Regions from separate parts of the Homo sapiens genome. Here regions 2, 3, 4, 5, 6 and 7 are each linked to region 1. The links are contacts of gene promoters, found by promoter capture Hi-C in blood cells and fetal thymus (Javierre and others, 2016). All regions are on one chromosome and are shown on one strand. The core of a region is centred on a gene start or on the middle of the fragment in contact, and the rest is flanking DNA. Distances in the headings are between cores, read along the strand shown.

Region 1 (4,204 bases), core at 839-3,338:
AAAGAGAATGAAGAAGCTAAGTATTTTTCTCTTTATTTTTTGTTTTAGGAACAAATGTTCCTATACTCTGCTAATGAATTGCAAGTATTTTTATAGCTTCTATTACTCCATTCTCTATACACTTTAAATTTTAAAACAAAACAACAACAAAATTGCCAAAGTATTAGAAAACCATCCACTGGCTATTGACCTGATAACACAGAAGGGCCCAGCAGTTTGATGCCAGGAAAGCCAATGCCCTGGAATTGAATATCTTGGAGGCTTTGTCTCTGTAACACCCCAGAGATGGGTTTGCTGCTTGCTACATTTGGTATCCTGGATTTTCATGACTGGGAGCAGGTGGGATAGGGCACCAGCTTTGTGATTATGCTGGTTTGTTTACAGTTGTGTCCTGCCACTGTTAATAATGGCAAATGAAACAAACAATGTAAACACAGACTTCTTTTTGTTTTTCATAATCTGAGAAGGTGGTTAGTTCTTAGGTCAGGTCAGTTTCACCAATCTAAGGAGTTTTTTTCCTATTTTTTTTTTTTTTTGAGACGGAGTCTTGCTGTGTTGCCCAGGTGGGAGTGCAGTGGCACAACCTTGGCCCACTGCAACCTCTGCCTCCTGGGTTCAAGCAATTCTCCTGCCTCAGCCTCACAAGTAGCTGGGGTTACAGGCATGCACCGCCACACCCAGCTAATTTTTGTATTTTTGTATTTTTAGTAGAGATGGGGTTAGTATAATATGAGTGTGCACCACTACGCACACCACTATGCTTGGCTAATTTTGTATTTTTTGTAGAGTCAGGGTTTTGCCATGTTACCCAGGCTGGTAAGTTTCTATGCAAGCTTGAAGCAGAGCTGTTCACTTTAATTGTTCCTGTGTAAACTCTGATCAGACTCATGTGGGTGTTTTGCAGGGCCTAAGAGTAAAGCAGGACACCTCTGAATCTCTGGAGTGAGTCTGTGTGGGGATAGACATCTGTCTTAGGTTAGTTCTGACAGATCTGTGCCTTAGCTCTAAGAGAGAACATATGGAGGTAAGAAGAAACTATTCTGCTTTTCAAATAAATACCTTTTAAAAATCTTGCTACGTTTTACAAGTCCACTATTAGACTACTGATTAACTACTTCTCAAAAGAAGGAATGTGCCAGAGGTTTTGCCTCCACTTCAAAAAGTAAAGTGATAATTTGTCAGTTACCAGTTAACGTCATCCACTTAGGTATCTAAACTGGTAATTCTCATCTCAAAGTGAATTTTTTTGGCAGGAGGAAACCCAAGTTGACTCGTAAGAGTATATATACGGGAAACAATTTTCTTCCTTTTTTTATTCCTCTAAGTTTGATCCTGCAAAATTTCTGAATTAATCAGATCATTTCAAAGATCCTACTTTTCTTTAGATTAGAGGTAATTTTACAGCATGGTAAACAGCAATGTTTACCATGTATGGCTTAATCAGAGAGGCCCAGTCAGCACAGGGACTGTTTCTAGAAGGCCCCCTTACCTATACTTTAACTTCACCCCTGAGTTGTTCTCTTCGTCCAGTGGAGAGAGAGACAGAGGGAAGAGGAGAGCAAGATAGCGAGAGAGGAAACTGAGATTGGGAGAGAAGGAATTATAAGCCCGTATCATATTCTAAATAAAACAACACAAGTCATTTTACAATGCTGAAAACAATGCAGAAAGGTCTTGCCTCTAAAGCCCGCTATATTTTAACCAGCCTTCAGCCTTCTCCTTTTCCCCACTTATTTCCTTTGAAAGACCTACCCTAAGCAGAATGCATACACCAAAGTCATCTTTTATAACCAATTGATCACTTTAACCAGAATGCTAGAAACTACAGAACTTCATCTTCTTTTCTCCAATAAACATTTAATTTCTAAATGGCAAACCTTAAATCAAAGTCTCAGAGAAAAGGAGAAAGGTCAGTCTTCCTGTTTACTTACCTGGTTTGAGGTTTTGAAGGAATTGGAAACAACTTTGAATAAATCCCCCTCTCTCTTTCTTCTCCTGATGTTTTCTTCTAGAAATTTGCAGTGCTCACTTTTTTTTTATCCAGACCCAGCCAAGGTGTGTTAAAGCTGAGTGATCTTTCAAAAATGTTCACTTTTCTTTCTCTCCACCTTGTTTCTTTCAACTCTTTGCTTCCAAACATGTCCTGACAAAGGTGTGTCATGGTTTACAGCGTTACTCCACCCTTCCAATTATCTGACACTTGCTGGATTTAAAAAAAAAATCTGCCTCCAGGAATCAAACTTTACTGGAGGCAGAAAGCTTCTCCTTCCAGCTTAGGTAGATTAACTATTTATAAGGCCCATGGGGAAAAGGAAACAAAGGACCAGCATAAAGGAAATGCTTTTTTATTGCCTACCTTCTACAGCTGGAGAACTGCCACAACTTTGTGGCAGTACCCTTCCTCAGTGCCATGGGTACTGGAATCCCACTGCATGATTCATGAGTCTAGGCACGTGGATGGGCTCATGGATGAGCATGGTCTAGGCACATGGATGGCCTGTGGTCATACTGCCTGAGCCCTAGAAAAACTGAAGTTGGCAGGATTTATATTCAAGATCTGTTTCCCCTATAGATGTCTTCGTCCTCTGTTCCTGTGTCCTGTGTCCTTTGTCTTGTTTCCCCTATAGATGTCTTTGTCCTCTTTCCCCTCTTGTGACTCAAGCCAGGTCAAGCCCATCTGGAGAAAATAGTTGGTGAACTAATTCATAATATGCTAATGACTGAATGTACTGAGCAATTGGTGGGGTAGGGGTTCGTTTTACAAAAGAGGCAACCAGATATAGTGATGCTGACCTAAAAGAGTGACATGTTAGTGATGGAATTTTAGGCATTTAGCCACCTAATAATGGAGAGAGGTGCTGTTGGGAAGGGATAAGGACCTTCTTGTCCTTCAAATCAGGTGACCGCATAGTCTCCATACACCTAAAGACATGTGTGGGCTCCCAGATGTCCTGCAACTCCAAGTACATCCTGGGGACCTTTAGATTTCCCTAGAGGGTCAACTTGCATCAATCAGGATAATTCTTATGAATACCTGGATAGCATCTGGCTTCCCAGGGGGCCTAAAGACTAGCTTGAGACACTTGGTGTTGGTAAAATGGGAAGTCTGAACCTGGAACTCACTCAGGCAGTCCTTTGAGGCCATAGCACATTCCTGGGACCCAGCATCACACTGGGATTCCCAGTTCTGAGGCATTATCCTAAGATACTGGAGGGGAGCAGTGGGGCCCTTACAGCATAGCACCGATGTGCAACTGCACCTTGCTATTGTGGGCACTGCATCCCATGGAAGGGTAGCAGACCACAACAACAGCTGTGGGGCTCTTGCTCCTAAGCTGCCCATATTCCACACTGGAGTCGTGCATTTCAGAACCCTTTCAATTATGCAGAATTTGACACTTGCTTTGTAGGATGTTCTTGCCTTCCCCAAATAAATACTCAATATGTCTTCCGTCAGTTTCATAGTAGAAGAACACTGAAGAACCCAGAACACACAGAGCTTTCAGCATAAAATAGACATGCCCCTGCATCATTTATTTCTTTATTCATGAATTCAAGAATTAAACAAAAATATATTGGCTCCTGCTTGGAGCCAGACATTAAACTATGTGCTAAGAGTTTGGTGGTGAAATATGAACATAGTCCCTCTGCTTATGGAGTTCACAGTCTAATGGAGGAAGACAGGCCTTACATAATGTATTAGTCGGTGAGGGTTCCCATAACAAAATACGACGGACTGGGTGGCTTAAACAACACAAATTTATTTTTTCACAGTTCTGTGGGCCAGAAGTTCAAGATCAATGTGTCAGGAGGTTTGATTTCTCCTGAGACCCCCCTCTCCTTGGCTTGCAGATGGCCGCCTTCTTGCAGTATCCTCACATGGCCTTTCTCTGTGCATGCACATCCCTGATGTCTCTCTCTGTGTGTCCTCATCTCCTCTTCTTAAAGGACACAGTCAGATTGAATTAGAGTCCACCCTGATGGGCTCCTTTTTTACTTAAATTTAACTACTTCTTTAAAGACCCTATCTTCAAATAAATTCACTGAGGTACTAATGGCTAGGGCTTCACATATGAATTTTGGAGGGACATTATTCAGCCTATAACAGTTACGTACAATATATAATTGCAGATTATATATATATATATATTATAAGAGCAACTGCAAGAATATGATAACTATTATAAAGAAAGCATACTGACTT
Region 2 (4,204 bases), core at 702-3,201, 510 kb before region 1:
ATTATGGCCCCTAAATTCAATTGGCAGATTGAGATATCCCTTCATTTATTCTTCCTGAATTTTTTTTTTTTTTGGTAAAGAGAGAGAGGGAGACACAGAGATTCATCCAGAGATCTCCTGAGGTGGGCGTGATCTCTCCACCTTCGTTCACTGCCTGTCCTCTGAGATACTCCCCTCTACCCCAGGTAGCCTCAGGATCAGCTTCCTTCCCTGCCTTCTCTTTCCTCTCCGCCCCACTTCCCGCCCCTCCCTCTCTCCATCACCTGCACCTTTACTGCACCTGTATCTTTCTGGGCTTTTCTCTCTCCCTTGACCTAGATCCTCTCACCCTTCTTGCTTTCCCTGGTCTTGGTGTCCTTCTCCCCGCTGCTGTCTCTCTTCTGAAGAAAGTCGCTGTCCATCTTGGTGGCTCTGAGGCTGGGCCAGTCTTTCCTGGGGTGACTGTCCCCCAAACCAATGTCTGATCTTTGGGGATTTTCTGCCAGGCCTGCCCCTGCCCCCTTTGTCTGAAGCCTGTGGTCAAAGCCCTCCCAATCTTACCTGCTCTGTGTTTGTTCCTTAGACCAGAGGCTTCCCAGGGTAGCTGGCACATAGTAGGTAAGCAGGTCAGGCCATGGATGGGTTGTGTCCCCAGACAGAGTGGAGGCAGGGGCTGGTGTCTCTCCCCAGTGGACGGTCCTCCCTGCCCTGGCCAGAATCCAAGCCCACAATGGTGCCCATGCCATGGCCCCAGCAGGCCCTCCTCCCTGTTATGGTGCCCATGCCACAGCCCCAGCAGGCCCTCCTCCCTGTTATGCTGGAGTTCTGCAGATCACCTCTTTCTTTGGGGCGCCCTGGCCCAAGCCCAGGCTGGTATCGTCAAGAATAACAGCTTCCTTCCTCCAGGGAGAAGGACCCGCCAGCAACTAAATAAACACAGGTTTTATGGGGTGATTAATACATGGAAAAAGAAGCTCCTATCCCAGTATCTCAAGGTCTCCTTGCTCCTCTCAGAAATGTCAATTCAGGAAGAGCAGCTGTGAGTCCCAGCAGGACTTGGCTGGCGGGCCAAGAGCCCACTTACAGGGTGCTCCAGAGCATCCCTTGGTGCCTACCACTGCCTAGGCACTAAGCGGGGGCAGGTGGGAGACAGAAGAATCAAAAACCCAGCCCCTCTCCTGGAATAATGTTTTCCCTGGGGGACACATCATATAACTGATGCAAGGTGGCCCAAGTTCAATTCTGCAATCAAGTGTGACCTGAAGAGTAAAACTGTGTGTATGTGTGGGAGGGGAGTGCAGCTAGAGAGCAATCCAGGAGGACTTCCTGTAGGAGACAAGTTTTAAGTCAGGAACTAAGTGAGGTGAAAAGAATGGATTGGTTGAGGAACAATTTAGGTCAGACAGGGGGGTGTCCACAGGTGCAGAGGTGGGGAATTGGCGGTCAGTAGGGGAGCAGATCCAGGAGGGGAAGGAATGAGGTAGAAAGGTAGTGGGTGACTTGTGGAGGTGAGGGGTGTGCACAGGTGTGGGTATGTGTATGCATCACAGGGGAGAGAGCCATGAGAGCTGAAAGCTTCCAGCAGCTTTTGTGCTGTCAAGTTGTTCAGTAAGAGGGACTGGCTGGTTGACAGTGGAGAAGTATGAGACCCAGAGATGGGGAGAGGCCTGCCCAAACTCTCCCAGCTGCTCATCAGCCAGGCCAGGCCTGGAACCCAGATCTCTCAGGCTGATCTGGGAGTAAGGTCAGAGGGAGGAGGCTATCAACACATCTAAATGGTGGGGCTGGGTCCGGGAGGGTTCTAGGAGGGGATGAGGTGGGGGCTCCCGAGGGCTTATGCATTCTATTCCATCCCTTGCCATGCACAGGTTCCCAGGTCTTGGTAAAAGACCCACGCCTGCCTACTGAGGAGAGAGCTGTATGGAGACTCTCAGGATGGGCTTCCAAGGGTCATGTGCTGCTGGGTGGGTTCTCCAGGCCCCCTGGAGATAGGGGCCTAGGTCAGGTCCCCTATCCAGGGTGTGCCTCAGCTTGGAGGTGCTGAGCATGAGTGATCCCCAGCCGAGGACCACACTGCCATCTGGGCCTTCTGCTTCCCAGGCTAAACCAATATTTACCCTCAGCTGTGGCTGCTAGGGGCCAAGAGGCAAATATTAGTTTAAGGAGCCTGAGCCAGCTGTTGGGCTGGGGGAAACAGCTGAGGCTGCCGATCATGATTTCTTCCTCTTTGATGATTTTCATTTCTTTTTGATTAAGAAAAAAATCTTGCTTTTCCTTCTGCTTCAGAGGGTTTTCTGGTGCTTCCTTTCTGCTTACCCCAAATTCTGCCAGCTATATCAGTGCCCCACACCAAACCCTCCCCTCCATTAGGAAGCTTTCCCAGACCTCCCTCATTCAAAATGACCCTTCCTCCTCCTGACCATCGGAAGCACTTGGAGACCTAAGTGGTATAAGCAGCTTTGAGTCATGTATTGTCCTGCTCTTTAAAGATCCAGCATATATCCTCTTTGTATATAAAGGAAGGTATTATTGTGCCCATTTTGTAGATAAGGAACAGAGGCTGAGAGAGGTCTGATAACCTGCCCAAGGTCACACAGCTGGCAGTTGGTGGAGCTGGGATTTGAACCCAGGAGCTTGGGCTACATTACCTTCCAGCTTCTCTAGATGTGAGTCCATCTGATCTCCCTATTAGGTCTGGATACCCGACAAGAGCGGGGACAGTGGCCCTCCTGTGCCTTCCAGAGTCGAGCTTACAAGAGCTCAAGGCATCAAGGATCAACTGCACATGTTGGGCACAGATAGGCCACCAGGGCCCCAGCAGTGCTGGTACAAGGAAGAGGGGCAGTGCAGCGCCCAGGATGCCAGATTCAGTGGGGAAGGTCGGTCTGCCTGCCTTATAGTTCCCCGGAGGCTCCCGAGGGCTTTGTCTGGTTCAGTTATTCCTGTGCACTCTAGTTTTCTACCACAATGAATATATATCAAGTTGAACCATATGTAATCACCAGTATTGGACTGTTTTTAACTTACAAGAAAGGCAATCTCATGTTTGCCCCTAGCATCTCTTGGGCCCAAGAGATTGTACTGGGGCCTTGGAGAGAGTGGTGGGGCTCAGGGTGGGGTGTATGTGGAGGGAGGAGCTCGGGCCTTGCAGTATTGGGGACAATGCCTTCATTTAAGATGCAGGAGACCCACTGAATCAAGGCTTGACTTGGCCACTCATTAGCTCTGGGCAGTTCTCAGCTTCTCTGTGCTTCAGCCTCCTCATTATTTGGGCATAATTATACACACCCCACTTACCTCACAGATGTGGAAAGGCATTTACACAAATGAGAAGGGCTTTTGTCTTTAGGTTAAAAAGGAATACCTAATTTAAAGACACCGCCCTCCACGGCCAAAAAAGCCAACCCCTCAAACCAGCTCTTCAACTAGAAGAGGGAGCCTTGAACCCAGGTCTCTGTATCGGGCTGAAAGGAAAACCATGCAATCGAAATTGCTCCTTGGAACAAGATCTGTGCTTCTCCAGCTGGGTTCCTTGGAACACTGGGGTTCCACAGAGGTGTCTTGGAGGCTGCAGAGAAGGCCAGAGAGAGGGTGAGGGGATAGGTGCTAGGTCCACCTCCTAGACTTCAGCCAGAACTTGGGGTTCTGTTGGACAAAAGGATTCCACTGCTTTTTAAAAAAGTTTGAGACCCACTAGACCAGATGATTCTATAAATCTATGAGATCCCGTGGCTTGAAGATTCTCTGAATCTTAAAGTCTGTGACTGTGAGTGATTTTAGGATGTTCTGCCCTTCCCTCTGTGAGCCCCAGAAAGCATGTTTGTTTCTCCTAAATTTCCCATGGTTGGGTTTAAAGGGAGAGGGTGGAGGTGGGTGCTGGGAGGGGTGGAGAACCCCCTTGCCTGTCTAAGCCAGGCACCCGCACTTCCCGGCTCCCTCCCATGCCCCGTGCCAGATGCGGACCAGCAGGAGGATGTTTGTGGAGACAGTAAAGGGCTGGCAGCGCCTCCCAAACAGGGGCCAGCAGATACCTGCTAGCAAGCCAGGCGGCTGCAGGCTGACCTGTGGTTACAGATTAGCCAGTGCTCCGGATGTGAGAACGTCAACAAATGGGACTCTCAGGCTGACGGCAAGCTCTGCCTCAAAGGAGGCCCCGGCCTGCCCTGAGGTCCCCCACGCCCAGGTCCTGCCTTGGTTACCCTGCACTGCTGGCAGCGTATGGCAG
Region 3 (4,204 bases), core at 990-3,489, 400 kb before region 1:
TCGCTCCTGCCGGGATGATGGGCCCCTCTCCTTCCCTCAGACTTTTCAAGCTCATGCCAGGCCAGGTGTGGTGGCTCACGTCTGTAATCCCAACACTTTAGGAGGCTGAGGCAGGAGGATCACTTGAGGCCTGGAATTCAACACCAGCCTGGGCAACAAAGCGAGACCCTGTTTCTACCAAATAAATAAACAAATCAGTAATAAAAAATAAAGGCTAGAAATGGTGGCTCACACCTGTAATCCTAGCATTCTGGGAGGCTGAGGCGGGTGGACTGCCTGAGCTCAGGAGTTCAAGACGACCCTGGGCAACACAGAGAAACCCCATCTCTACTAAAATACAAAAAAATTAGCCAGGCATGGTGGCGGGTGCCTGTAGTCCCAGCTACTTGGGAGGCTGAGGCACGAGAGCTGAGAAGCGGAGGTTGCAGTAAATCGAGATTGGGCTACTGCACTCTAGCCTGGGTGACAGAGCAAGACTGTCTCCTACATAAATAAATAAGCCAGGCATGGTGGCACACCAGTGGTTCCACCTACTTGGGAGGATGAGGTGGGAAGATCGCTTGAGCCCAGGAATTTAAGGCCACAGTGAGCCCTGATCGCACCACTGCACTCCAGCCTGGGCCATTAAGTAAGACCCCATGTTAAAAATTAACACCAGAAAAACCCACAACAACAACAAAAAAGCAAAAACTCATTCCAGCTCCACATCCTTACTCATGCCTGGCTGTCCCTCCTGCAGGGTGCCCTACCCACACCCTTCAGCCCATCACAATCTCCTCTGTCCTTCAGGGCCATCTCCAGCCTCTCCCACAATGGCCAGCCACCCCTCCTTCCACCTTGCAGATCCCAAGCCATCCTGCCTAGTATTAATGAATCCCTGAAAAGGTCCCACCTTCTCAGTTGAGCTGTGCACTCCATGGGGCCAGGAGCCAACAAACTATTAAGAGAAGTGAAAGCCTCACAAAGCCTGCGCTCTGGAGGGAGGAGGCCTGCTGCCACTGCCTCGTCTCCCTCCATCTCCCTCTGCTGCTGGTTGGGCAGGGCAGGCCCAGGGAGGGCCAGAGAGCCCAGCTCTGCTAGTGCCCTGCTGAGGTATTTACCTTGCGGGGAAGGGAGGTACCAGAGACCTCACAGACCGGCTTCCTGTGCTTCAGGACAGCCCTCCTCACACTTCCACCTGACAGCCCTCCTCACACTTCCACCTGGTTCCAGGGCTTGGTGGGAGTGCTGACCAGCAGAAGACCAGGTTCTGCCCACCCCATACCCTGGGCAAGTGGCCATCCCTCTCTTAAAAGCTTCCTCTATAAAAGGAGGAGAATAGAGGAACTTTTTCAGGTAGACTAACCCTTTTTTTTTTTGAGACGGAATCTCACTCTGTCACCCAGGCTGGAGTGCAGTGGCACCATCTTGGCTCACTGCAAACTCCGCCCCCTGGGTTCAAGTGATTCTCCTGCCTCAGCCTCCCGAGTAGCTGGGATTACAGGTGCGGGCCACCACATCCGGCTAATTTTTCGTATTTTTAGTAGAGACGAGGTTTCATCATGTCGGTCTTGAACTCCTGATCTCAGGAGATCCAACTGCCTCGGTCTTCCAAAGTGCTAGGATTACAGGAGCGAGCCACCACGCCCGGCCATAGACTAACCCTTAATAGTGGCCAGAACTTATGGGCGGGTCTTGCTCTAAGCAAATTCACTTTATTAAAAACCAAACTCATAAAAAGGAAAATTAGGCTGTGTGCTGCGGTTCACACCTGTAATCCCAGCACTTTGGGAGGCCGAGGCAGGATAGTCACTTGATCCTAGGAGTTCAAGACCACCCTGGGCAACATAGCGAGACCCTGTCTCTACAAAAACTAACTGGACGTGGTGGTGCATGTCTGTAGTCCCAACTACTCAGAAGGCTGAGGTGAGAGGATTGCTTGAAGCCAGGAGGTCAAGTCTGCAGTGAGCTGTGGTTGTGCCACCACACTCCAGTCTGAACGACAGAGCCTGGGGCCCTGTCTCAAAAAAGCAAAAACAAAAACAAAAACAAAAAAAAGGCCAGTCATGGTGGTTCACACCTGTAATCCCAGCACTTTGGGAGGCCAAGGTGGGTGGATCACCTGGGGTCAGGAGTTCAAGACCAGCCTAGCCAACATGGTGAAATCCCATCTCTACTAAAAATACAAAAAATTAGCTGGGCATGGTGGCGGACGCCTATAATTCCATCTACTTGGGAGGCTGAGGCAGGAGAATCACTTGAACCCAGGAGGTGGAGGTTGCAGTGAGCTGAGATTGTGCCACTGCACTCCAGCCCAGGCAAACAGCAAAACTCTGTCTCAAAAAAAAAAAAAAAAAAAAAAAAAGAGAATCCTGTGTCTGGCTGACCTGGGGCAAGTTCCTTAACTTCCCTTTCCTGGTCTATAAAATGGGACAAGACCACCTACCCTGGTTGTTGCAGGGAGGCTCCTGGCAATGATGAGATAGTGGACACCCCACCTTCCCCCTGTCTGATTGAGGAGTCACTCCGGAGAAAGGGCAAAAGCTGAAACCAGCGCTCTCTCCTGTTTGAGACGAACCCCTCCGGTGCTGCCTCCTATTCATAGTAAAAGCTGCTTCACCCTTAGTGCTTCCTCTAGGCCAGGCACGGTGCTGGAGTTATCACTTCAGGAACTTTCACTCAATCCTCAACCCCATGAAAAAAACCTGATTATCCCTATTTTACAGGTGAAGAAATGAGCCATAGAGAAGGACTTGCCCAAGATCACACAGCAGGCAGAGCCGGGACATGAAACTAAGCATTCTGGCTCCAGAGTCCACGTTTTTAACTCAACGGAATACTCAGCAATGGCTGAGTCTACGCCCTGTCGTCCCCTCCTGGGTCTCACAGAATGGAAATAAATGTCTCAACTCAAAGACCAACTTCTCCCCTTCTTTCTTAATCTATCAATAATTAAAACGGCAATAACAAATGGCAGAGCTGGGGTTCAAACCCTGTCTTCCTGTTGCCAAAACCTAAACTGTCAACCCCAGGCAACACTGCTTCTCTGCAGTGAAACTACATTAATGCTGATCTCATGAACTCAGCTAATAATACAGTTTTATGATCACTGAGATAGAAGTGGGGCTGAGCTCACCACTTTTCCAAGGAGAAGAATAAAGTAAACAGGATTTCATGAGGAACATCAACACTTGCCTAAGAGAACAAGCTTGTAACAACACTCTTGAGCAACCTCATCTGCATGTAAACGAGCTGGAGCTTCCACAGGACTCCTGGGTTGGATGAACCCTCAGGCTCTCCTGACAACAGCCCCAGGGCCCTGACAATCCCGAGGCTCCGTGGCCACCTGTGCCCCCTAGTGGCGCATCTCAGAACTTCCCGGCTAGGTGCCCTGGCGAAATGCAGCTTTTTAGAGAACTGGGTGAGAGGCATGAGATCTTTGCAGGTCTCAAGAGAACCCCTTGCTCTGGGGAGTCTGCTCCAGCCCCACTGGGGCTCCTGGAGCAGTGCCCACCTTGGGGAAGCAACAACAGCTAACAACAACAGGCCCTTCCTACTGCCAGGCACAGCACAAAACCCCTCAAAGGGCATCACCTCCTTGAACCCTGTGCACTTTGGGGCAAGCCAGGTCGCTGCTACTATAACAACCCCATTTGACAGGTATGATGGTCAGGTGGTACACATCAACCTGGCTAAGCTACTGTCCCCAGTTATGCAATCACACACTAATTTAGGTGTTGCTGGGGAATTTTTTTTTTTTTTTTTTTTGAGACAGAGCCTCGCTCTGTTGCCCAAGCTGGAGTGCAATGGCATGATCTCGGCTCACTGCAACCTCCACCTCCTGGGTTCAAGATTCTCCCTGCCTCAGCCTCCTCAGTAGCTGGGATTACAAGCACCCGCCACCACGTCCAGCTAATTTTTTGTATTTTTAGTAGAGACGGGGTTTTGCCATGTTGGCCAGGCTGGTCTCAAACTCCTGACCTCAGGTGATCCACCTGCCTCGGTCTCCCAAAGTGCTGGGATTACAGGCATGAGCCACTGCGCCTGGTTGGGAATGTATTTTTATAGTTATTAAAGACCATGACCGGATGACTTTAAGTAAGGGAAATTATCTAAAACACTCTGGGTGGGCCTGAGTCAGTAGCTGAAAGGCCTTCAGCAGAGTGAAGGTTTCCCTGAAGACATTTCATCTGCGGACAGCAGCTCCAGCCTGGGCCTGGGGGTC
Region 4 (4,204 bases), core at 1,071-3,570, 380 kb before region 1:
ATCCATCCATCCATCCATCTATCCATCCACCATCATCCATCCACCATCCATCATCCATCTATCCATCCACCATCATCCATCCATCTATCCATCATCCATCCACCTATCATCCAGCCATCCATCCATCATCCATCCATCATTCATCTACCATTCACCCATCATCCATTCACCATCCATCCACCATCCATCCATCCATCATTCATCCACCATCCATCCACATCTTGACTGAAGGTCTGTTGTAGACCCAGTCTTGTGTATGAAGTAAGAGAGTGGCAGAAGACACACTGTCCTGCCCTCTTTTTCATTTTTTTGTCCATCTAGCTGGAAAGAGATGGCAAACACCCACGAAAAGACAACATACAAGTTCCCTTGTGATCAGGTGCCCCAAAGCTTGGTCAAAGGAAACACTGTATAGAAATTTCCAGGACAGGGAGATCAGAGTGGTCTGGGGTGGTCAGGGAGGGCTATGTGGAAGATGGGGCACTAGAGCTAGCCCTTGAAAGATGAAGACTGTTTAAAAAGAGCAGAAGCAGGAAGGAGATTTGGGGTGGAAGGGATGGTGTGAGCAACGGTGCAGGGGCAGGAACAGATGTAAGCCTGTGTGTGTGCGTGTGTGTGTGTGTGTGCATGCTGGGTGCGGAGGGCAAGAAGGCTGTATGTCTTGGGGGAGCAGGACAGGCAGCTGGGGCTGGACTGAGCCCCAGAGGAAGCAGCTCAGATTTTAGAAGGAAGTTGCTGAGAACAACCCAGCGGCAGTATTCCTAAAGAGAGATTCTCCCTGAAGGCTGTGGCACCAGCTCTGTGCCTGAGGATCACATTTCTAGCTCCTTCTGGTTTCCCTTGTTCAGGTGGTGGGGTGAGGACTTGTGTCGGGGGAGCCAGAGGACTGCTTTGCCCCTCAAGCTACACTGGCCCCATCTGCAGACATGTGCCTGGTCTCTGTGTCACGTGTGTGTATGGGTGTGTGTGACACACGGGCAGATACCAGGGCCCCACTGCAGAGCACAGACCTCTTGGGTCGATCCTTGGCTGATGGCCCCTAACTCCCCAGCCCTGGCCTAGTTTCGACCTGAGACTGGGAGCTTGGGCCAAGGAGCTCCCTATTTCCCATGGAGGCCAAGGAGCCCACCCAAAGTCAGGCTGTGCTTGTTTCTGCCTTGGCCTCTGTGGGAAAGAGGACTCGGAGGGCCCCACACTCCTCCCACACACCTAGCCCACCTGCATGGCCCTGGGAGGCCCGGGTGATCGCCTCTTACAGTGAAGGAACCTGAACCTCCCAGACTTTCCTAGACACCATGTGACAAACCCACAAGCACCAAGCAGCCAGATGTGCCCAGCCCAACAGAGGCAGCTGCGTTAGCCCCATTTTACAGATGCACCTCAGTCAGCTTAAGTCACTTGCCTGGTGTCACACAGCTTGCAATGGGAGGCAAGGCTGCAGACTCGGTTGTCTGTGCTGCAACCACCACAGGCCCCCTCCTGCCCTGCCTAGTGTTTCACAACTTTCAAGGCCTAAGGAAGGGGCACCTCCTCCAGAAAGCCCACTCTGATTTTGACCCCCAATAGCACTGAATGTTCCAATTCTGTCCCCAACAGTGGTGCCCTCAAAGGAGCTGTCCAGTAGAATTCTCCGGGGTAATGGAAATAGTCTCTATCTGTCCTGTCCAGTATGGTACCACTGGCCACAGTGGCGCTGAGCACTCAAACACTGAATTGTGACCAGTATGACTCAAACACTGAATTTTTCATTTTGTTTAATTAAGACTTAGATTTAAAGAGCCACCGTGGCTACTGGCTACTTTATTGGACAGTACAGTCCAGACTCTGACATGGTATGGCCAGAAGGTTTGCTTGGCTCCCATGGTGCGTGTGTGCATGTGTGTGTATGTGTCTCTCTGTGTGTGTGTAGCTGCCTAGGTTCAAATCCCAGCTCTGCCAGACAGATTATTTAGGGTCTCTGTCTTCATTTATAAAGTGCAGAGACTGAAATGATCCACCTAATTGGATTGCTGGGGGATAAACAAGTTAATACACATAAAGTCCCCCGTGCACAGTCAGGCTCAGTAACAGGGAGCGCATACACAGATCCTCCACCTGCTCCAGCTCCACCTGCCAGTCACAGGGCCCTGCTGCCAGCACTGGTTCACCCTCGAGAGGGGAGAGGGAGGGACTCTGGAAGAGCTGTGACTTGCAGGGGAAATGACAGAACCACCTGGGACAGAATGGGCTTGGCCAAAGGAGGGCACTGAGAGAAGGAGCCAGGAAGGTGGGGGCGGTGGCCACTGGAGGAGGAGCAGCATGGGAAGAAGCAGGGACACGGGCCTGGCTGGCCTCAGGGGGAGGGGGGAGCAAGGCTTGGGGTGTCTGTACAGAGATGAAGAAACCCAGGCTCTGCAGGGTAAAGCCACTTTGCTGAGACCACACTGGTGGCTGGTGGCTGGCAGCACTGGGGGTGGCAGAGCTGGGGACTTCCAGGTCCATCTGAATGACTGTTATCACTTTCACATTCCCCCAGAATCCCTTGCTGCTGCCAGGCTGACGGGTCTCCCCAGAGGCGACAGGAGTGACAGCCAAGTCTGGATCCCCCTCGATGCTGGACCAAGAGGCTGACTTAATGAGCCTGTTCCACAGAGGGCAGTGGCTGCCATGCTCCTCACAGCAGGCACTCAAAACGCAGGACAAACGGGCTCCTGGCCAAGGGCCTGTGTGCCCAGGGATGGGTGGCTCCTGGGCTAGCCTGGGTGCAGGGCGGCCTGGGGGCTTCCCCAGGGTCTGCCAGAGCATACATGTAAAGGACGGGGTCTAGGGAGGAGTCCTGTAAGATGCCAAACCAGGGCCATCCCAGCCTGTGAGGCCCGAGACATGGGTTCCAGGCCTGGCTGTCTGAGCAGGCAGCATGACCTGGGTGGTGGCAGCCCTCTCTGTGCCTTAGTTTCCCTGATTGGGCTTTTGCAAAGAGGCCTCCAGCTCCAGGCTCACAGGACAAGCCTGTGTCCTGCTTGTAGCAGGGGGGCCATCCAGGAACCCTAGGTAATACCTAGGTAATACCTCCATGCTCCCAGCCTTCTCCAGCTGCCTTCCTGTCAACCCTGAATGCTCCTGGGCCAGCTCAGCTGCAACTACAGTGAGGGCCCTGCCTGCTCACCAGCCTGTCCACTACAGGTCCCAGCAGGCCAGCCGTGGGCCGCCACCTCCATCCTCCACCAAGCAACCTCTCCTGAGCTTCTACACCAAGGTAAAGCCCCCGAGGTCCCGGAGCAGGCTTGTGCCCATGAACCCCAAAGTATGGTGGCAAACAGGGGGAGGGAAGGGCGGGCGTGGGCCAGGCCTTGGTGGGAGTCACCACTGAGCAGTTCTCCCCACCGTGAGTGAGCTCTTCTTACCCAAAGGTGGGAGTGGTAGTGCTGCTCTTATTATTATTAATACTATTATTGACAAGAGCACTACATTTGTCAAGCATTTACATTATGCCAGGTGCTAAACTAAACCCTTGACACACATCAGCTCATTTTATCCTCACTACATGCCTGTGTGGCAGAGTCCCTTACTATCCCCATTTTACAGATGAGAAATGGAGGATCAGAGAGAGCATGTGACTTGCCCAAAGTAACACAGCTTGTGAGGGATACAGATGGGATTGGAGGCCAACCTGGCTCAGTCTAGTGCTCAAATCCTAACCACCACACTGTTCATTTACCACCTTGTGGCTAAGAAGGACACATAAAATCCAGACAGAAAAGCTAAATGAGGAGTAGGTGGTGAAGAGAAAGGTAAAACGAAGGCAAAGACTCAGGGTCAGAAATACCCAAATGACCAGCCTGGCCAACATGGTGAAACCCTGTCTACTAAAAATACAAAAATTAGCTGGGTGTGGTGGTGTGCACCAGTAATCCCAGCTACTCAGGAGGCTGAGGCAGGAGAATCGCTTGAACCTGGGAGGTGGAGGTTGCAGTGAGAGCCAAGATCGTGCCACTGCACTCCAGCCTGGGTGACAGAGCAAGACTCTGTCTCAAAAAGAAAAAAAAAAAAAAAGAAAGAAAGAAATACCCAAATGACATCACTGAGTTCTAGACTCTTCCTTAGGGAGGTCACAACTTCAGGGCTGGCATGAGAATGTCCAACAGGAAGAAACCTGGCTGGTGACCCGCACAGTGGGTCACAGTGTCACAGCGTCCATGACCACATGCTCAAGAGATGCACTGTG
Region 5 (4,204 bases), core at 748-3,247, 370 kb before region 1:
GGACCAAATGTTTGTGTCCCACCTAAATTCATATGTTAAATCCTAACGCCCAAGGTGATATAGTAGGAGCTGATTAGGCTATGGTCATTAGCCTCATGAATGAGATCAGTGCCTTATAAAAGAGAACCCAGAGAGCTTGTTTCCCTGTCCACCAGGGTAAAGATGACTATGAACCAAGAAGCAGGCCCTCACCAGACACTGAATCTGCTGGTGCCTTGGTTTAGGACTTCCCAGCCTCTTTCATAAGAACTGTGAGAATTTTATTTCTGTTGTTTATAAGCCACCCAGGCTATGGTACTCTGTTCCAGCAGCCTGAACAGACTGACACACACCATCCTCAAAGGAAAACATCAAAGGGGCTGAGGCCGGTACCCACCTACTCTGGCTGGGGTGGAGGTGGGGAGCGGGTGCTGACGAGGTTGGGAAGGCGTAGTGGGTGTGAGCTGAGTGATGGGTTGGGTCAGGGCTGTGGTTAGAACCGTAGGTCTGGGGCCAGCCAGCCTGGCTTGGATCTTGGCCCTGCACCTGCCAGTTGGGTGACTTCAGGTGAGTGGCTTCATGTCCCTGAGCCTTCAGCTCCTTGGTAAAATCATGTCACAGTCGTACTTACCATGTAAGACCATAGTGAGGGCTGAATGACAACAATCATTCATCCAACAGAGACCCTCTGAGACCCTGCTCTGGGACATGCACTGTTCTGGGTGCTGGGGATACAGCTGTGAACAGAACAAAGACAAGTTCATACTCTCCTGGAGCCTGTGTTCTAGTGGGAGGGGCCAACAATAAACACAGCAAGCGTCTTAGTCTGTTCAGGCTGTTATAACAGAGTACCTTCTTACACTAGGTAATTTCTTTTTCTTTTTTTTTTTCTTTCTTTTTTTTTTTTTTTTTGAGATGGAGTCTTGCTCTGTCACCCAGCTGGAGTGCAGTGGTGCGATCTCGGCTCACTGCAACCTCCACCTTCTGGGTTCAAGCAATTCTCCTGTCTCAGCCTCCCAAGTAGCTGGGATTACAGGCACGTGCCACCACGCCTGGCTAATTTTTGTATTTTTAGCAGAAATGGGGTTTTGCCATGTTGGCCAGGCTGATTTCAAAGTCCTGACCTCAGGTGATCCACCCGCCTTGGGCTCCCAAAGTGCTGGGATTACAGGCGTGAGCCACCGTGCCCGGCCACACTAGGTAATTTCTTAAAAACAGAAATTTATTGCTCACAGTTCTGGAGGCTGTAAAGTCCAAGATCAAGGTGTCAGCAGATTTGGTGTCTGGTGAAGGCTGGTTCCCCACAGATGGCGCACTCTAGCTGTGTCCTGCCATGGCAGAAGGGGCAAATGCTGTGTCCTCACATGATGGAAGGGGCAAGGGCCTTGCTGGAGCCTCTTTCATAAGGGCGCAAATCCCATTATCCTTCCGTGTGAGGAGGCAAAACCACCATGGCTGCTCTGTGCCAGGCTCATCAAAGGTGTCCATGAAGAACATCCTTTCTGTGCAGGGCCAGTGGTCTGGAAGAGCAACCACTAACTGACCGGAGATGGGTCTGGCTCTCCGCCTGCAGAAGCCAGCGAGTGGCCTGGGATCAAAGCCGAGGCGCTCAGGCCTGCTGCCCACCTCCCCCACTGAGTCTGGGCTGTGACAGACCTTGTCTTCTCTGGAAGATGGAAAGGGAAGACGGTCCCCCACCCCAGCCCCCATGAATTCTCAATGGACCCTGCAGCAGCACACTTGAAAGAAGCCAGGGGTTATCTACAAAATTCCAATTAAATCCACAGGCTTTGATAATTTGATAAGCCACTCCACAGTCGCCCCAGAGTCAAAATATGCTGTTACTCGATCCCGTGTTTATGTTCTAGGCTGGAGGGAAGGGAGGTGCACAGTCGCCTGGAAAGGTCCAAACAGCCGGAGAGGGAGGAGGTGCAGGCACTAGGCTGACACGTCGGCAGCCTGTCAGCCGAGGGTCATGGACAAGCTCTGGCTCTTTTGTGGCAGGCACACTCTGCAGGGGAACACAGGTCTCTCTTGGTGGGTCCTGGAGGCGGAGCAGAGACAGGGCCGGGCCCGGGGAGGGGGAGCCCCTCAGAACTGCCTGGCCACAGCTGAGCTCACTTCCTGAGCCTCAGACCTGTCTTGGGGCTGGAGGCATTCCTATTCCCAGGCCCATAACTTGCCAGACCAGTGGTGAACTGGCCCACGTGGCCAATACCACCTCAAGAAAGAGGCAGATAACCCCTGCTGGCCTGGTGATGGAGCGGCCAAATGCTTCACAGCCCCTCCCTGCAAAAGTCAGGTAGGGACGGAACGTGCACACATTCCATTCTGTTCCCCAGCCTTCCATGAACACAGGTGTGGAGCACTTCCTGTGCACCAGTAGCACCTGGCCGGGTTATTTGAGTAAACCCTCTTGACCAGCTCGTGAGTTCTGCATTATCTCATTTTAGGGGAACAGAAATGCAGAGACATTGAGCAAATGGCCAAAGATCACTGAGCCTTAAGTGGCAGGGCCTGGCCCCAGAGCCTGGCCCCACAAAGCCATGGCCTGCTGCCTCCCCAACAGCCAAGTGTCTTGCTGAGCCTGGTTTCCACTGTTCCTCAAGGGCCTCCTAGAGGTGGGCAAAAGGCTAACTTAATGCCATGAATGAAGTGAGGCCGACGGATTCAGCTGACTGGCAAAGAGCAGGTTTGGAGGCATGGATCACAGGCTGGGTCAGCTGCTTTTGTGGCGATACACCTGCTGCCTCCACCATCAACGATCCTGATCCTTTTCCCCCGTGGCCAGGCACACGATCACGGGGGATCCCAACAGCCACCCACGTAGGGAGGAGCATCTCCTCTCTCCCCATGCAAGGACAGAAAATGAGAGGCTTGGAGAGAACATCACAGCTGGGCAAGGGCGGGTCAGGTGAGGACCCAGGGATACTGCTGCCAGGCTCAGAGCCTTCCCTTGCCCTGAGGCAAGGCAAGGATGAAGAAGGAAGGGGCAGGAGCGCAGACAGGTGGGGACAGAAAGGAGATCCTGAGGAGCTTCAGGACCACAGTCCCCAAACCAGTGAAGCAGGTGGGAGAAACAGATGAATGTGGGCTTCTGCTTGCAACCTGGAAGTTCTGGGTTCAAATTCCCGCTCTAGCTGTGAGCTCCTGTTTTGTAATCTGTAATGTGGGGATAAGAATATACAAGCCCTGGCCGGGCGCAGTTGCTTATGCCTATAATCCCAGCACTTTAGGAGGCTGAGGCGGGTGGATCCACTTGAACTCAGGAGTTCGAGACCAACCTCGCCAACATGGTGAAACCCCGTCTCTACTAAAAATACAAAAATTAGCCAGGTATGGTAGCATGTGCCTGTAATCCCAGCTACCAGGGAGGCTGAGGTAAGGGAATTGCTTGAACCTGGGAGCCAAAAGTTGCAGTGAACCGAGATTGCTCCACTGCACTCCAGCCTGGGTGACAGAGCGAGACTCTGTCTCAAAAAAAAAAAAAAAAAGAATATACAAGCCCTGGTGCAAACCTCTCATCATCTGAGTTTCATGGATAACCCTTGGAGGTAGCAAAAACAGGGCTTAATCACTATTCCCTTTTTACAGATGGTTCCCTATTTCTCGCTATTCTTTCTTCTGAAATTTTACATTTTAAATTTTAATTTTTTGTAGAGACAAGGTCTCACTGTGTTGCCAGGACTGGTCTTGAACTCTTGGGCTCAAGAGATCCACCTGCCTTGGCTTCTCAAAGTGCTGGGATTACAGGTGTGAGCCAATATGCCTAGCTTTTTTTTTTTTTTTTTCAATCAGCTGAATTTAAGATTCATCCCTGTTTCTCTCTAAATGTAGAAACTTCGGCCAGCACTGAGCCACTAGGGACCACAGGAAGGCTTGGGGAAGTTACGAGGGATCTGCCTGGACATTACACAGCTAGTAGCAGCAGAACTGGGACGTGAACTCAATACTTTGCATCCTATACCCTGTGGCTTTCCACTGCTTCACGCTGTGAACCAAGCTACTGATAAGCTCCTGATGGTTCACAGTGCTTGTTTCTTGCCTGAGGCAGCCATCAGTGAAGATGGTCTTTGCTAGGCCAGGTGGGCCTCGGAGCTGCTTTTTCCTCCCTCGAAATGCCCAGGCTATTTCAGGCTATTAGTCTTTTAGCATGCGTGAAGACAGAAGGGTCCCTTTAGGCAGGACTGCCATGTATGGGTGTGCAGGCCACATATTCTACAAC
Region 6 (4,204 bases), core at 1,046-3,545, 350 kb before region 1:
GCTTACAGGAAATGCCAGCCCCTCAGACCTTCCCAGCTGACTCTCCCAAGCTGGCCACATTCAATCATAACAAATGCATCAAGACATAAGTCCTTTTCTAGTCTGAGAAATTTAGAATCTGAACTCCTTGGTTTGATGTTCAAGGTCTTACACAACTGACTTCTGTGCTAGGCGGCTGTCAATGTCTAGGGCCAAAGCCCCCTTTTCAGAAGGCCTTCCTTGATTGGCTGAGCTGGGAGTAATGTCCCTCTTTCCAGAACATCCACAACTCGTTGTCCATTCCTAGGCTATCTGCCACATTCTGCTGTGAGTTATAGCACTTGTGACCCATTTTGGGGCCCATGAGCTTGGCACATGATGAAGTGCTCACCTGTAGCTGTAACGGGCATCTGTTGCCTCAGTCTACCTAATTTCCCCCTGGAGAAGGCATCTTCCACTCCCAGTCCTTGTGGTGTCAGTCAGTCTAGCCACACCCCCTAGCAACAAAGGTAGCCACAGGATGCAGCCTAGTCAGCCAGAGTCACAGTGATTGGCTCAGTGGTGGGGAGGGACCCAATCTGGGCCAATGAGAGTCAGCCCTGAGACTGCTTTTTCCCACGGTTGCTAAGCTGGCAGGATGAAAGCCTGGCACCTCTAGTGGCCTGGGAAGCAAACGGAATGAGAGAAAGGAAGGGTGGCTAGCACAAGACAGGTGCTTGGTAAAAGCTTCTTGAGTGATTGAAAAGCCAAGTGGAGAGAGGGAGAGACAGAGCCCTTTGACATCATTTCAGCAGCTGGATGTCGGTAGCTGTTCCTAAACCAGGGTCCACCTGGTACTTTTCAGTTGCATAAAACAATACCATTTTCTTTTTCATTTAAATGAGTTGAAGATGGGTTTTCATAACTTGAATTAAAGGACACCCAATTTAGATCATTTCCATTGCATGTGAGCAGACAGGTAGACTGCATATGAATCCACACCAGCTGCTTCTGTCAAGGTCCGAGTGAAGTACTCAGAAAAGCCATTGCCTTGATTTAGATTATTCCCCCAGACACAGCCCCAGAAACAAGGATTTGACTTGTTTTGGAGGCGATCCCAAGAAATATCATTAGGGGAGTGGGACAGTAAGGGCAGGGAGGGGAAGGAAGTGTTATCAGGCCAGTTAATCATGGTGGGCAACTAGAGCTCAATTCTGCTGGGGGGCTCCAGGAGATGACAGAGAATGTACCTGACATGTGGAGGCTGGGGATCTACCCACCAACTCCCTGTTTGTCACTGAGGACTGCCTCTGAGGGCGTTAACTCCAGCACATCTGGCTGAGTGTGTGCCCATGGCTAGACAAAGCCCTGAGGTAGAAGGCCCTAGTGGCTCCAGTGAGCAGCCTTTGGTAGGCAGAAGTGAACAGACAGGGGACCCAGGGGCCATGAAAACCCCAGCTGCAGCCACCCCTGACTTCCCTGCCACCACAAGCATTGGTCGCCAGCCCTGCTGAAGTCAGACAGTGGAACGTGTAACTGCATCCTATTGCATGTGACCTGCTTCCCGTGGATATCTCTCATCTCTCCATGATGGCTCTGCAGCTCACCCCTCCTGTCTGCCCCCACACTACATGGAGCACTAGGCTTTGCATTCAGCAGATGCTCAATGAGTGCTTGCTGGGTCATTCTTGTTCCTCTCCTGGACTCTTGCTCAAGCTCTCCTTCATCATCTTTTCTCTGAAGCCAGAGGGCCGGGCCATCTCCCTGTCAGATGGACAACACTGTGCAGACAGACGACATCACCAAGATGAAGCGGCTCTGCCCTGCGTCCCTCTCGAAAGGAGATAAAACGTGATTTATCCAGACACTGGCGACGCCGCTGTTCCTTGGGGGAAGATGTCACAGATTCGGTATTCCTTGCCTCTTTGCCTCCTACCCTTTTTTGGTTGCCTGTCGCTTGATTGCTCACATGCCACAGGCTACATGTGTGAGGCCAGGGGGAGGCTGTGTAAAAATAAAAACATGAGGTGACCTGAGCTCAGGACTGCCAAGAAGATGGGTGGCCCTGGGGCTGGAATTCTGGGCCTTTCTAATGAAGGCAGTTGTTTGTCAGAAGCTGAGGGATGCCCAGACCCAGTGACACCAGCGGTCCAGCCGTATGAGCAGGACCCTGAAGGACTGTCTGAGATACAGAGGAAACCCAGGGGGACCACAGGAGGGTGGGGGAGGGCCCACAAACCTGCATGGAGCAGGGCCTCAGCCTCCAAAAATGCACTCCCGCCCTTTCTCATCCTGTTGGGGGACAAAAAAGAAAGCAGGGAGATGGGAAGATAAATGGGGTCCCTCTCCCAGCCCCCAATCTCAAGGTTAGCCAAAGCTCTGGCTGAGGCTTAGATCATTCCTGTCCTAGTTGCAGACAGAACTCTCTTTTTTTTTTTTTCCCGAGACGGAGTTTCACTTTTGTTGTCCAGGCTGGAGTGCAATGGCATGATCTCAGCTCACTGCAGCCTCTGCCTCCCGGGTTCAAGCAATTCTCCTACTTCAGCCTCCCGAGTAGCTGGGATTACAGGCATGTGCCACCACACCCGGCTGATTTTGCATTTTTAGTAGAGTGGGGTTTCTCCATGTTGGTCAGGCTGGTCACGAACTCCTGACCTCAGATGATCCGCCCACCTTGGCCTCCCAAAGTGCTGGGAAGAACTCATTTTAAAAACTAGTTAAGGAGCACTGAGGCCTCCACAGGTGTAGGAGATCCAGAGAAGGGAGGGATAGGTTGGGGTGGGGAGGTAGATGAGAGGGTGCTCCTGACTCCTCCCCATGCTGGCCCCAAGCACAGGACCCCGCCCTGCCCTCCAGTCTGCACTCTGAGTGAGGCCACCGGGCCACTGTGCCTGGGGCTGCCCAGTCCTCCCCACCAGGCTCCTGGATCTGCTGCTCACTTGCAAGGTCAGAGGAGAATTTCTGCACAAGCCAATTCCCAGCTGAGTTTTTGGAAGCCCAATGGGGCTTCCCCCTTTCCCGCTGAAATCCTGACAGGAGCAACGTTTTCTTTTCCCAGGGCTTTGGCACAATTGGCCAGTGGGGGAGAGAGGGAGGGAGAGAGGGAGGGCCTGGAAGGGATTCTCCGGTCTTGACTTCTCTGTTAGGAATCCAAACCACACTCTGAAAGCCAAACCGGTGACCGTATAAAAAGGGGGAGAGAAAAAGGAGGGGGAGGAAAATCCCCATGAAGGAAGCCGGGACCACAGGGCATTAAAGGCCTCTTGTAAATATAGTGCAGCCCGTTGACGGCAGGGCTCAGCTTCTGCCAGAGTCTTCAAAGCCATCCAGATGCCGCCCTAGGAATCTGATGAGCATCGCAAGGAAGATTGCACGGGGCATGAGACAGACCTAACTCATCAGGATTAACTCAGTCCTGAAAGCGGAGAAGAAGCTGTGCAGCTGCGACGTCTAAGCAGTAACTGGAGGTCCTTCTTCCTGCCACTCTGGGCTGGGCTGGGGTGAGACCAGCGAAGGAGTGGGGGCCTCCGGTGGGAGTCTGGGGTTCAAGTCCTACCTGGGCCACAGGCTGGCTGTGTGACCCTGAAACAGGTCCCTTCTCCACTGGGACTGCTGTGTGCTCATCGGAGGCCTGGGCTCTATGGCTGCTACCTCTGGAAGCCCTAAGATTGATTGACAGTGGGGACGTTAGTGGGCAGAGGAGGAAGGAGGAAAGGGTTAATGGTAGCTAAGCGCTCAGCACACACCTGGTGCACACTAAGAGCTTTTCACTGAATTCCCTCCCTTCATCCTCGCAACAACCTTGAAGCAAGTACTTTAACCAGGCCCATTTTGTCCTAGAGGAGATGGCAGCTCAGAAAGGTTGAAGGACCTGTCCAAAGTCACACAGCTATCTAGTGGCTGAGCTGGGATTTCAACCTGGGGTTTTAAAGCTTAGAGAGTGTGGGGGAGCCATGATCTTTGCACTTGGATCATGTCAAGCCTTGAGAGCCACCGTGAGGACTTTGGATTTTATTCTGCATGTGAAGGGAGATGAGAACAGTTAAACCCCCAAACCAACCACAGCCTCCAGGGCTCTTCTTGGGAAAGCGGTACCTATGGGATGGACTCCCATGAGAGCCAGGGCCTGGGGCCTCAAGTAGAATCACCAGACACAGTACCACTGGCCAGGGTCCCCACACCAGCCATGAAGAGTTTGGTAGCTACCTCCATGAACTAGGACCCATTTGTAGAGGTAATAAGAGGG
Region 7 (4,204 bases), core at 763-3,262, 330 kb before region 1:
ATCGTGAACAGCTGCTCCACCCTCTGTCTTTCACCAGCAAGTTTTTCTGGTAACAAGACCACATAGGTCTCACTTAAGCCATCTTCACCAACTACCAACTATTAAACTGGTTAATTCGTCTTTCAGATCAGAAACAAGAGGCCAGGAGTAAAAACTGTGCCAATCAGAGAAGAATTACCTGGCCACCAAATTACCAGTCACTCACTCATCTCAACTCTCCTCCCTGGCTCCTTTACTTTGAAGCTTAGGTCTGCAATGGTTATTTTATATAGAAGAGCAAAATATGCTCCTTTCAAATTTCACTTTTTTTTCTTTTTTGAAATTAAAACCAATTTTGTTTAGAGACAGGGTCGCACTCTGCCACCCAGGATGGAGTGCAGTGGCATGATCATAGCTCGCTGTAACCCCAAACTCCTGGGCTCAAGTGATCCTCACACCTCAGCCTCCCGAGTAGCTGGTACAGGAGTGTGCCACCATGCTTGGCTTCACTTTATTTTGTTGACTTAACTTTTTCCAGAGACATCTTACAAGAGCCTGTTTTCCATCCTAACAGTACGACGTAACTCCAGACATAGGCTTTAGACGTTCTCATGCCACCCTATCTTCAAAACCACAGAGAGTTCATGAGCCAGTCTTGCCCATCTCCAATCAGGGAACTTCTAAAATAAAAATCTTAGCAATCTCCTTGGCCCAAAACTTCACCCCATCTTGGAAGGGAGGGGAGAGAGAATGTTCTGATCTATATCTGATGAGGGCGTGTGGTTGGGACCTGAGCATCCTCCTGGTTGGGCTAGTGATGGGGAGAGAGGGCTGTTACTCACGACTCCCTCCCACAGAATACCAGAAACAGGCAGGCAGCTCAGGTGTATGTAAGGATGTGAGGCCAAGAAACCAGCCCTCACCAAGTTACCCCTGTAAATCCTTGTCTCCCCATGCACCTCTACTTTGAGTCAGAAATGGATTCATTGCAGGCTCAGTTGTTTGTATTATGTGAATGAACTGAACGTAACCAAGCACCAAGAGAGCCCTAAAGACACAGTAGACCTCCTGTAGAAGGGCTCTGATGGACCTTCAAACATTGCTTCTCCAACTTTATGGTGCACACAAATCACCTGTGCATGTTAAAATGCAGACGGTGACTTACAGATCTTGGGGGAGGCCAAGTGTCTGCATTTCCAACAAGCTCCCAGATGATGGCCACACTGCTGATCTGAGGACCACATTTTGAACAGCAATCCTTAAAACACACAAGGCTGTGGGACCGCACTCCTGAGAAGAGACCTCACTCTTGGAAGGGATTCTAGGAGGCTGCATTCAAACCATCCCAGAGACAGCTCACAATTTTGTTAGGGACCTGATACTAAAAATTACCAAATCACAATCGTGTGCTGAGGGCTTACTTTGTGCTTTTCAGATGACATTTCATTTGATGCTCTCAATAACCCTGAAGGGATTTCAGAGATGGGGATTATGATGGAGCTTCAGAATTAAACTGATTAAAACTGGCCCAGAGTCACACAACTATGAAGAGGCTGAGTTGGGATTTCTTTTAATTTTTATTTTTTGAAACAGGGTCTCACTATGTTGCCCAGACTGGTCTCGAACTCTTGAGCTTGAGCAATCCTCCTGCCTCTGCCCCCTGAGTAGCTGGGACTACAGATGTGAGACAGCATGCCGAGCCTGCTGAGTTGGGATTTGAACCCCAGGTTTGTCTGGCTGTAAGTCCTCCAGTGTGGAAGTACGATAGCTACCCATCTCAGCCACGGAAAATAGCAGAGTTTTGGTTCAGGCAAGTAGCACTAAGTAGAAAGCCCAGGTATGAACCAGATCTGCAGGAGCCCAAAGTCATTGCTCAGAACCACCCCCTACCCGCTGAGAAGTTCTTCCTGTCCCTGGAAGTTCTCTCTGAGATCCACCCAAATGTGTCCTCACTAAGGCGAAATCTGGCTTCTCCTGTTTGGGCCTGGGGAGAAACATAAACCTAGCCCCTTTCCTTCACACGAGCTTCGATCTTGACAGTTGAAGCCTGCAGGGGTGTCGCCAGGCCACCCTGTCCCTGACAGGTAGAGAAAGGCGAGGCTGCCAGCCAACCCCCACCCTCCACATTTGCCTCCTCCCTTCCCTTTTGAAGGTACATTCAGATGAACGGGCTCCATCTTCAGGCCATGCCAGTCCCCTGGGGCCAACTGTGGTCTGGAGGCTGGGCAGCCTGGCATCCTGGGGCCTCCTCAGTGGACATCAGTCCTGGGAACTGTGGAGGTGAAGGGGGAGGAGGTATTTTCAGCGCCCAGAACGATGGATCTGCTGGGTGCCAGGCAGCCCTGGATGAATGATACATCAGTTCACACAGGTGATGCCTAGAGCCAGCTCAGTCCCTGCCAGAGAAGAGCTCTGGCTTGGGGCTTTGTCCTTGGGCCTGGGTCCAGTTGGAGTGACCCAGGAGGGCAGTGTGCGGGATTAGGCCAGGGACACTGTGGGAGTTTATCTCTTCCAGTGCCCCTCACCTCCTAAGAAGTTGTTGGGGGCCGGAGCTCCTTCTCAATGCGCCTCAGTGTTCCCCTCCACCACCATCACCCGCTGCTGCCACTCCCGAGCCCTCAGTGAAACCTGGACCCAGAAACCAGAGTGCCCAGTGCCCAGAGGCTCCTGGGGAGGGAGGCTGCCCACCACAAAGCACCTTTCATATGCTCCAAAGGCTTCGGCCACCTCAGGGAGGAGGGAGGAAGTCCTTTCCCTTCACCCCCACGGATGCAGCCCACAGGCAGGAGTGGGGAGTGGTGGTGAGGTGAAACACTCCTTCTGCCATCTTGGCCAGGGCTGCCCAGACAGAGCTATGGGCAGTCATCCTCGACCCCACCCCACCACCTCCAATCCATCAGCATGGCCTCTTGGCTGTCCTTCTAAGACAGACCTCAGTCTACTTCCCTCCACCCAGGGCCCAGCCTAGGCCAAGTCACCTTTGCCCTCTCACCTGCCTCTCCAGGACCCCAGCTGGTCTCCTCTGCTCCGTGCAAGCTCCCGCCAGCCCCTTCTCCAGACTCCACACAGGCCTTTGAGGCCTAGCACCTTCTTCTGTCTCTAGCCTCAGCTGCCCACTTGCCCTCTCACCTCTATCAACCCTGGTCTCAGTAACCATCCAGTCTGCCATCTACGCTGGAGTATGAGTTGGCTGGAAGCACCAACCCTGGGGACACCAGGGTATAACTGTACTCTCTCAGCATGGAGGGAAAGGATCCAACCTTGTAAAAGGACATTTAGGCATCAGGTAAGGAAAGGATGTATTTCCAGGGGGAGGGAGTGGAGGGTAAAGGACAGGAGTGTCACCGAGCCCTGAAATCATGCCTGTCACTTTCTGGTGACTTTGCCAACAAGCAAGGTGATCCCTGATTGCTCAAACTTAACTTCTTCAATTTTGTGCCATGGTGATTAGCATGGGGTGCACTAGAATCCAGGACTCTGGAGACCCAGGCCCGGGTGCATTTTCTGCGTCTTAGATGACACAGACTGACTGAGACCATGAGAAGAGACAGGCTTTTCGGCCCAGATCAGAAAGTTCCTGGGGAAGATACCTAGGATACAATCCATCCAGGACGGAGGGTTGGGGGTAGGTGTTCAGGAGCTGATTCCCTTCTAGAATGATTGGGAAGGCACATACCAAGTTGTAACAAGGTGGCCTGGCTCTTTTCCTGGTCTTGGAATGTGGGGATGTCGCGGGGGAAGGGCTTGGGAGACTGATCTACATTTCAAAAGTAAAAAAGCCCCTTGCGTGGCTGACCCCTGCAAAGCTTGTTACTCCCTGCAAGACCTGGAGGGTCTGCAGCTCGGAGTCTGGAAGGTAGTGACAGTGACACTGCCATGTGATCAGAGGCCGGATCCCCACCTTTCATCCCAGATCAGCCATCTGGGTCATCTGCTCTTTAGAAACAAGCTCCTTGCTGCTTTGCAAGTTACCACAGGCCGGGAAAGAACTGCAGGAAGTGAGGCTGTGCCTGGGCTGCGGCCTGGGCTGCAGTGGGAAGAGCTGACTCAGCACAGAGTGGGGAGGGCAAAGGAAATCCCACATCTGTGTCCTGCGGCAAAGCCACCACGAGCACAGACAGGCTTGCGGCACCAGTCCTCTCCCGTTGCACGCCACACAGCGCTTTCCATGCATTAACTGCTTGCGATGTCACCAAACCATGATCAACCCATTTGACAGATGATG

Evidence for each region. The method cuts DNA at HindIII sites, captures the fragments that hold promoters and counts their contacts. A CHiCAGO score of 5 or more calls a contact.
Region 2: a fragment that was not itself captured here is called in contact with the fragment with the promoter of COL17A1 in region 1 in 1 of 17 cell types (naive CD8 T cells); the score reaches 5.8 in naive CD8 T cells.
Region 3: a fragment that was not itself captured here is called in contact with the fragment with the promoter of COL17A1 in region 1 in 3 of 17 cell types (naive CD8 T cells, total CD8 T cells and activated CD4 T cells); the score reaches 6.3 in naive CD8 T cells.
Region 4: a fragment that was not itself captured here is called in contact with the fragment with the promoter of COL17A1 in region 1 in 9 of 17 cell types (total CD8 T cells, activated CD4 T cells, naive CD8 T cells and 6 more); the score reaches 12.1 in total CD8 T cells.
Region 5: a fragment that was not itself captured here is called in contact with the fragment with the promoter of COL17A1 in region 1 in 11 of 17 cell types (activated CD4 T cells, naive B cells, naive CD8 T cells and 8 more); the score reaches 8.9 in activated CD4 T cells.
Region 6: a fragment that was not itself captured here is called in contact with the fragment with the promoter of COL17A1 in region 1 in 9 of 17 cell types (M1 macrophages, naive CD4 T cells, naive CD8 T cells and 6 more); the score reaches 7.1 in M1 macrophages.
Region 7: a fragment that was not itself captured here is called in contact with the fragment with the promoter of COL17A1 in region 1 in 2 of 17 cell types (total CD8 T cells and naive CD8 T cells); the score reaches 6.5 in total CD8 T cells.

What each region holds. Positions count from the first base shown.
Region 1 is chr10:104,083,792-104,087,995 of GRCh38, forward strand. COL17A1 (collagen type XVII alpha 1 chain) reads right to left here and starts at 2,089. Exons shown (of 56, transcript NM_000494.4): 1 at 1,932-2,089. The HindIII fragment of the contact is 1,426 bases long and covers 832-2,257 here.
Region 2 is chr10:103,574,931-103,579,134 of GRCh38, forward strand. All of the region lies in intron 3 of NEURL1 (neuralized E3 ubiquitin protein ligase 1), which reads left to right. Among named protein-coding and RNA genes, the nearest start is that of NEURL1-AS1, 60 kb to the left of the region's middle. The HindIII fragment of the contact is 799 bases long and covers 1,553-2,351 here.
Region 3 is chr10:103,683,019-103,687,222 of GRCh38, forward strand. All of the region lies in intron 6 of SH3PXD2A (SH3 and PX domains 2A), which reads right to left. Among named protein-coding and RNA genes, the nearest start is that of SH3PXD2A-AS1, 62 kb to the right of the region's middle. RefSeq lists enhancers at 903-972, 3,603-3,652. The HindIII fragment of the contact is 1,892 bases long and covers 1,294-3,185 here.
Region 4 is chr10:103,701,988-103,706,191 of GRCh38, forward strand. All of the region lies in intron 5 of SH3PXD2A (SH3 and PX domains 2A), which reads right to left. Among named protein-coding and RNA genes, the nearest start is that of SH3PXD2A-AS1, 43 kb to the right of the region's middle. The HindIII fragment of the contact is 3,864 bases long and covers 389-4,204 here.
Region 5 is chr10:103,718,848-103,723,051 of GRCh38, forward strand. The region is part of intron 5 of SH3PXD2A (SH3 and PX domains 2A); the gene reads right to left. Among named protein-coding and RNA genes, the nearest start is that of SH3PXD2A-AS1, 26 kb to the right of the region's middle. RefSeq lists an enhancer at 3,734-4,204. The HindIII fragment of the contact is 4,828 bases long and covers 1-4,204 here.
Region 6 is chr10:103,736,411-103,740,614 of GRCh38, forward strand. The region is part of intron 3 of SH3PXD2A (SH3 and PX domains 2A); the gene reads right to left. Among named protein-coding and RNA genes, the nearest start is that of SH3PXD2A-AS1, 8.3 kb to the right of the region's middle. The HindIII fragment of the contact is 3,185 bases long and covers 704-3,888 here.
Region 7 is chr10:103,753,884-103,758,087 of GRCh38, forward strand. The region is part of intron 3 of SH3PXD2A (SH3 and PX domains 2A); the gene reads right to left. It overlaps SH3PXD2A-AS1 (SH3PXD2A antisense RNA 1), which reads left to right. Exons shown (of 3, transcript NR_038940.1): 3 at 1-1,526. Among named protein-coding and RNA genes, the nearest start is that of SH3PXD2A-AS1, 9.2 kb to the left of the region's middle. RefSeq lists enhancers at 2,044-2,701, 2,702-3,357. The HindIII fragment of the contact is 3,542 bases long and covers 242-3,783 here.